Linked DNA regions of Homo sapiens: region 1 is linked to region 2. Evidence: promoter capture Hi-C in 16 types of primary human blood cells and fetal thymus (Javierre and others, 2016). All regions are on one chromosome and are shown on one strand. The core of a region is centred on a gene start or on the middle of the fragment in contact, and the rest is flanking DNA. Distances in the headings are between cores, read along the strand shown.

Evidence for each region. Contacts are between HindIII fragments. The CHiCAGO score rates a contact against its expected background, and 5 or more counts as called.
Region 1: a contact is called between a fragment that was not itself captured here and the fragment with the promoter of OR9K2 in region 2, in 2 of 17 cell types (activated CD4 T cells and naive CD4 T cells). The highest score is 5.4, in activated CD4 T cells.

What each region holds. Positions count from the first base shown.
Region 1 is chr12:54,600,062-54,603,834 of GRCh38, reverse strand. No RefSeq gene overlaps it. Among named protein-coding and RNA genes, the nearest start is that of PPP1R1A, 13 kb to the right of the region's middle. The HindIII fragment of the contact is 2,544 bases long and covers 109-2,652 here.
Region 2 is chr12:55,124,676-55,128,481 of GRCh38, reverse strand. It overlaps OR9K2 (olfactory receptor family 9 subfamily K member 2), which reads right to left and starts at 2,076. Exons shown (of 3, transcript NM_001005243.2): 1 at 1,966-2,076; 2 at 1,571-1,654. The HindIII fragment of the contact is 7,142 bases long and covers 1-3,475 here.

The sequences.
Region 1 (3,773 bases), core at 131-2,630, 520 kb after region 2:
TTGGCATTAAGTTTGCCTTCAGAGGGTGGGGTCATGTATACAGCCTCTTCTTTCAAAGTGGGGGCTTAGGATATTTCTATCATCTTATGATATTTAGAAGTTTAAGCTTGATTCAATCATACCACAATGTATACATATATCGAAACATCACATTGTACCCCTTAAATGTATACAACTATGATTTGTCAATTAAAAAATTAAAAATTTTTAGAAAACATAGAATCTCAGACGTGACTAGATCTATTTATTTCACGCATGAATTCCCTTTAGAGTGTATTTCATCTTCTCAGTAATTCTGTGGCATGCTTCCTCAGGACATGGGCAATAACAGCCCCCAAACCCCCATTAAAAAAAAAAAAAACCTGCATTCCTTTGAAACTTACCTAATAATGTTTCACCACTAAACTTCCTGTTCGTCTTCCCTCACTCTGTGCAAGTGACTGGGTCAACGCTCCCTCTAGCGGCCTCAAACTGTTTTGCATCGTTGTTAAATCTCTCCAGGCCCCATTCACCCTCCGTGATCTAGAAATAAATAAATATTCTGCTCTCTTCTAGTTCCATCCTTAAAACTATCTAGGCATAGAGCCATTTCCCTTCTCTTTTAATGTATCTCAAGCATGGGCTCTATGAACTCAAACTTTCTCCTGAGAAAATCTCATCTTTTCTCCCAACTCAATCAACAGAACTGCCCTCTTTTTTCTTTTCCCTTTCTGTCTGACTTGTCTCACTATAAGACCAAGACTTGTACCTTATATGAACCCCACGTTTCCCTGATTCTTAGGAAAATATGATTTCTAAAGAGTTTTCCAGGTACAGGACTTGTTCATTTCTCCCATACTCTTCAAGTTTATAGTAATTCCATGGAGTTTTTCTTCACTTTCACCCAGTGACATTTCCTCCACATAAAGGATCCCATTATTTTTATCTGTATGAAGTCGACCACACCTCTGTGGTTAATCCCACAGTGGGACTCTGAAATCTGAAACCCTGGCTGGAGCTTCATAAATGTACAACCCCAAGCCACTTTGAGACTACGTGGTAGGAAATAATCCCAGGAGCCTGTGATCAGGCCATAAACAAAATCCCTCCTGAGTCTTCCTGCCACCCTAAATGCAGTTCAAAACAAAGCACACATTGGGACCTGCATCTGTGGGTGAGAAAAAAGAACAAGAGAAACGTGTTAAATGAAAACTAGGAAAAAAGTGAACAACAACATAAAAGAAACCAAACTAGACAATCAGTTGGACAGCCAACCTAGCATCACCTACTAAATATTAACACACATCATCTGAAGCCAAAATTTCACAGCCTTATGCTCTGTACCCAAGTGGAATTGGGATAATTTCATTCCAGCCTCAGCTGCACCCACGCAGCTGCAGGTCAGAGTTACCTTTAGAGTGTTTGCTGTTAAAATCCACTGTATTTGGGTCCCCCAAGGCCAGTCTTTGACTTCACCATCACAGCTCCAGGGAGGGCCACCAGCACGTCATCCCTCTGCCCCTCTGAGTCTGGCCAATGGAGAAGGTGTCCAGAGAACAAGGAGCAAAAAGGAAACCAAAACATCGATTGTATTAACAGCCAGACAAGTGCCGGGGAACCCACAGCACTCTGACCTCTCTGGCAAGGCTGAGCTGGAGAATGCTATCGAGACACAAGCCCAAAAGGGGCCTTCTCTCTGTCCTGCCTGAGCCACTAAACGGTGAGAGAAACAGCATGCATCCCCCAGGGAAGAGGTGGGAAGGTGAAGTCCTGTCCAAGTGTGCACCCTCATGAGAGAGGGCAGGAGGGAAAGAGGCAAAGCTGTTGAGGAACATTCCTGTTGATGCATTAACTCCGCCCCCTGGTGAAACGTGGTGTAATAAATGTTCTGTCTCACCAGCTGTCATAGCATCTCACCCTGTGGGAAGGAGCAGTCACCCAGAAGAGAGCCTTTCATCTTGTATTAGTTTTCTAATTACAAATTACCACAAATTTACCAGCTTAAAACAACACAAATTAATTATTTTACAGTTCTGTAGTTCAGGAGTTCCAGATGGGTCTCACTGGGCTAAAATCAAGGCATGTCAGCAGGCAGGGCTGCGTTCCTTTCTGGAGTCTCTAGGGGAGAATTCATTTCCTTGCCCTTTCCAGCTTCTAAAGGCTGTCCACAGTCTTTGGCCCATGGCCCCATTCCTCCATTTTCAAAGCCAGCCCCATCCGGCCAAGGCTTCTCACCCTGCCATCAGTCTAGTTATCTCTTTGGAATCCTTTGTCCACATTTAGGGATGCTTGAGATTATACCAGGCCCACCCAGATAATCTAGGAGAATTTCCCTATTTTAAGACCAGCTGATTAGCAACCTCAGTTCAATCTGCAACCTTAATTCTCTGTTGCCAGTGTAACCCAACACACTTACAGGTTCTGTGATTTCCGACGTGGACCTCTTTGTGGGGCCATTAGTTATTCTGCTCCCACACATCTCCCATGGGATTAGCCACCACTCACATCCCCCCTTAAGCCATAGGAATCAGTCACCAAAGGCCTTGAAACCATTCAGGTAGGCACCAAGGTCTATTCCTTGTCCTGATTCCTCTTGTAGAAAGGTGGGCAACCAAGATCCTTGGGTTCTGTCTCTCTGTTGACCACAGTCACTTCCAGGACCAAGCCAAAGCTTTCAGATATATTTGTCATCCAGAACCCCTACCCTGTTTGGCTCTGTCAGCCCCAAATCTAGCCCAATTCTCTCTGCCCAGTCTCTCTCTGCCAAACCCTTTTACTATGCCCTCTAGAACTCCTGATCAGTGGTCAGTAAATTCCTTGGTATTCCCAATGTCTTGTTTTGAATTTTCTCTCTATTGCTTAATCTCCCTTTTTTTTCTTTCTTCTCCCAACTTTCAACTGATACCCGTTTTTTCTTCTTTCTTCTCCCATCTTTCAACTGATATTGCCTAATCTAAAATAACATTTTAAGGCCAGGTGTGGTGGCTCATGCCTGTAATTCTAGAGCTTTGGGAGGCCAAGGTGGGAGGAACGCTTGAGGCTAGGTTTTCAAGACCAGACTAGGCAACATAGCAAGACCCTGTCTCTAAAATAAAAACAATTAGCTGGGCATGGTGGCACGTGCCTGTAGCCCCAGCTACTTCAGAGGCTGAGGTGGGAGGATCACTTAAGCCCAGGAGTTCAAGGCTGCAGTGAGCTACAATCATGCCACTGTACTCCAGCCTGGGTGAGAGAGTAAGAACCTGTCCTTTAAAAAATAATAATAATAATAATTTCAGATTTTCTGAGACTCTGACAACCTCTATTTCACTCTCAAGTGGAAACTGCTTTCTCCTTTAGCCACCAACCGCCTCAGAATCCGAAGGTGGGAAGAAGGATTTTCCTCCTTGTTCTCCACTGCCACTTCTAAACCATTCCTCTTCCGTTCTACTCCAAAATCTCCCCTTCTTTGAAGCTCAGAATACATGCTGCGCCCTCCTACCAACCCCTCTCCCTTACAGGGAGCCCCTAACCTCAGCACCTGGTCTTCCTCTTCCCACTTGCTCCTGTCCTTTTTTGAGGACTGTCAGTGTTCATGCCGATGACCCCCCAACACTCTGACTTCTCAGTTCTTAACCTTTGTACCTCAGCCTACGCGCCACCACAGCCACTTCCAAAATCCTAAATTCAAGAATCCCACGTCTGGCCACAATTTCCTGCCCTTCCATCTCCATTACAGTAGAAGTCCAGTTGTAACAATTCTTTGACCTGATCCAGACCTCCGATTCACTGACCCTGCCATTTTTTCCATGTAG
Region 2 (3,806 bases), core at 827-3,326:
GTCAGAATCAAGATTTGAAGCCAGGAAAACTGGCTCCAGAATCCATGCTTTTAATCATCATTAATGATTAATCACTGTACTATATCAACTTTAAATAAAGGACCCTTCCTGTTCCCCTACCTTACTTCTGCTTGTACTTTAGAGTGTAGTTAAAATTTCATATTTCCAAATAAAATCTCTAATTCTTCAACCTGGGTCAAAACATCTCATCCAAAGATAATTTGAAGAGACCAACTGCCACCATATTTTAATATTGAGGTTACATATTAATTATTCTTCACTTGACAATAACTTAAGACAAAATTCAATTTGTTCTCCATATATTGTCAGCATAACGTTATGTGTCTGGTAAATGGCAGTTAATACATATTTACTATAGATAAAAGTTGAATGATAATGATCATGCAGAAACAGAGAAAAATATAAAAACTATCCATCCAATACTGCAGTGGTTAGTATGGGTTTTAGGTTTAAATAAATCTAGGCTCCAGTTCTGCTTCTCTCACTTTCTAAATGGGATCTTGGACAAGTTACTTATGCTCTCTCTCTATGCTACTGTATTCTCATATATAAAGTGGAAATAAGAGTCCTCAAAGTTTTCTTGGGAATAGAAAATGACATACGTATGTAAATCACTTAGCACCATTTATGGTAAACTAAGTATTCAGTAAATGTTAGCCATTATTTTTATTATACGTTTCAGTGCTCAGTCCCACTATTCATACCAAATAGTGCTTATTAGGTTGAAAACCAATAATATATATGGTCGTTTTTGGACAAAACATTCTCAGTTGAGGGGAAGAATCAATCTGTTAAAAGTTTAGAGAGATGAAGAACTCTTGGAGAAATGGAATATTTTGCCTGAGAAAAAAGATTATTAAGAGAAAAGCTGAATAAGATGTTATCATTATTTAAGACTGTATTAAATGTTGAAAATAAAATATTCACCCATTTTATCAAAAATTAAATATGTAAGTAATTAAGAAGTAGTAAGAGCTTACATTAGATTGCACTTAGGGTCTGGAAAGATGTGAGACATTTAAGAAGTGAAAGAAAGCTGACTGAAGTCAGCATGAAAAATCATTTTTTGAAAAATAATATATATAATTTATCTTCATTTTATTCTCATCTAGAAGCAAAACAGATTATTTTAATTTCTAAGATTTATTTCTATCAAACTCATTTCAACATTAGAATTTAATATTATTATTAATAGTAATTATTCCTCACTTGACAATAATATCCTTAACATCAAACTCAGCTTGTTTGCTGCGTATTGTCAACATAATGTTCTGAATCTAGTGAATGACAATAATTCAATACATATTATTACGTAGAAAAAAGCTGAATGATAATGAGTATGTGGAATCAGAGAATATAAAAAAACAAACTTATTAAAATAAATTTATATCATAAATGTTATAAACATTGTAACATTATAAATGTTAATAAATGCATTGCTGATGACATTTTTTACCTGGAAAAGGGAGTTATTCCCGCAGAAGCCAACAACAAGTAGTCAGTTTGTGACTTATTTTTCAAAAACTTACAGGTTTTAAGTTACTTTTACCTTGTATTGTTTAGTAACTGGTCAGATTCTGGTAAAAATCAATCAGCAGAGTTCCAATGTTTTCCTCTGTTTATTGTTTTAATTCTAGAAAGGATAAACATAAAGTTAATTAATGACTGTCATAATTATAAATACTGAAAAATAATTACTTTGAAATAAAATGAATCATTCCCCACAAATCCACATTTATTATTACAGTTTTAGATTCTTCCCATAGATAAATGTGGCTTATGTGCCTCATTGCTCTATTTTAAAAAGTCTTTTTTTCAGTAGTTGATTTCCTGAAAAGTTTTATAGTCCTTTTTAGAAGAGAGTCAAGGTGAATTTTTCAAATCATGTTCTGCCAAAACTGAAGTGATTCCAGGAACAAAAATCTATAGATAAGCAAAGTGAACCTGAGGAATCAATCCACAAGATATTATCTATCCTGAATTCTCAGAAACTTGTATGCTTTCAAGGCAAGAGGATAGATTGCCATGGATATGCAAGTAGAGGTCCTGAGCTCTTTGGCATCTCTGAATACTGCCAAAATATCAACAGCAGTTATCCACGAGGGCTTCGGTTTTGCTACAGCTTTTTCATATAATTACAGTATTGAGATTTCCTCTATGTTCTGGGAGACAGTACCTCTGGGAGAGAAGAACACAAGTCAATTAATTAGTAAGACTTCTAGGATCTAAAAGCAAGATCCATGAAGACCTCAGAGATTCTATATTTTTTTAAAAAGCCTAAGAGTACTTAAAGTACATATGAGACATTCTTTAGGAAAAATCACAAGGATCTTTTAATTTTAATTTCTTCACTGAAAAAGCAGCATTTTCAATTTATCATTATAGCACAGTTTTTGATAAGCAAGTAGAAATAGATACGAAAGGAAATGTTGTGGTTCATAATGCCATTTGTAGGAAAATTTTGAGTCCTAATCATAAAGTTAATTTCATATTTACTTTCAGAATTCTATTCACCCAAATCTCTCCTTGATGACTTTTTAAACTATATTTTCTCAATAGTAATTGAGAAGAAAGATAGAACAGCACGACCATGATATGGGCAAAAATCCAACAAACGCCCTCTAATCCATCAAGTAAAGGCCACATGATTAACTGGATCTAAAGTTGGGTTTATATTGTAATTTTAATTGCTTTAAAGTTGTTTATTCAGGTGTCATGTATTAAGTTAGTAACTTCTCATCAGTCCCTGTATATAGTTCAAAATAATTTAAAGAACTGTTGGTTCCTTCCGGTGAGTGTTAAAGTTCTTAAAGGTGGTGTGTCCGGAGTTTGTTCCTTCAGATATTTAGATGTGTCCAGAGTTTCTTCCTTCTGGTGGGTTTGTGGTCTCACTGACTTCAAAAGTGAGTTACAGCTCTTAAAATCTCTTAAAGGTGGCATGTCTGGAGTTGTTCGTTCCTCCCGGTGGGTTTGTGGTCTCGCTGACTTGGAACCAACCCAAATGTCCAACAATGATAGACTGGATTAAGAAAATGTGGCACATATACACCATGGGATACTATGCAGTCATAAAAAAGGATGAGTTCATGTCCTTTGTTGGGACACGGATGAAGCTGGAAACCATCAGTCTCAGCAAACTATGGCAAGGACAGAAAACCAAACACCGCACGTTCTCACTCATAGGTGGGAATTGAACAACTACAACACTTGGACACAGGGTGGGGAACATCAGACACCGGGGCCTGTCCTGAGGTGGCGGGGGGGGACAGATAGCATTAGGAGATATACCTAATGTAAATGATGAGTTAATGGGTGTAGCACACCAACATGGCACATGTATACATATGTAACACACCTGCACGTTGCGCACATGTACCCTAGAACTTAAAGTCTAATAATAATTAAAAAACAAAAACAAAAAAAGAAAAGAAAAAAAACAAAAAGGAGTGAAGCTTCAGACCTTTGCAATGAGTGTTACAGCTCATAAAGGTGGCACCTCCAGAGCTGTTCTTTCTTCGGGTGGGTTTGTAGTCTGGCTTGCTTCAGGAGTGAAGCTGCAGACCTTGGTGGTGAATTTTACAGCTCATAAGGGCAGCAGGGCCCCAAAGAGTGAGCAGCAGCAAGATTTGTTGCTAAGCTGAAAAACAAAGCTTCCACAGGGTGGAAGGGGAATCTAGTGGGTTGCTTTTATCCCCTTATTTGTCCTCACCCACGTCCTGCTGATTGGTCCATTTTACAGAGCACCGATTGGTCCATTTTTCAGAGTGCTGATTGGTCCGTTTTTA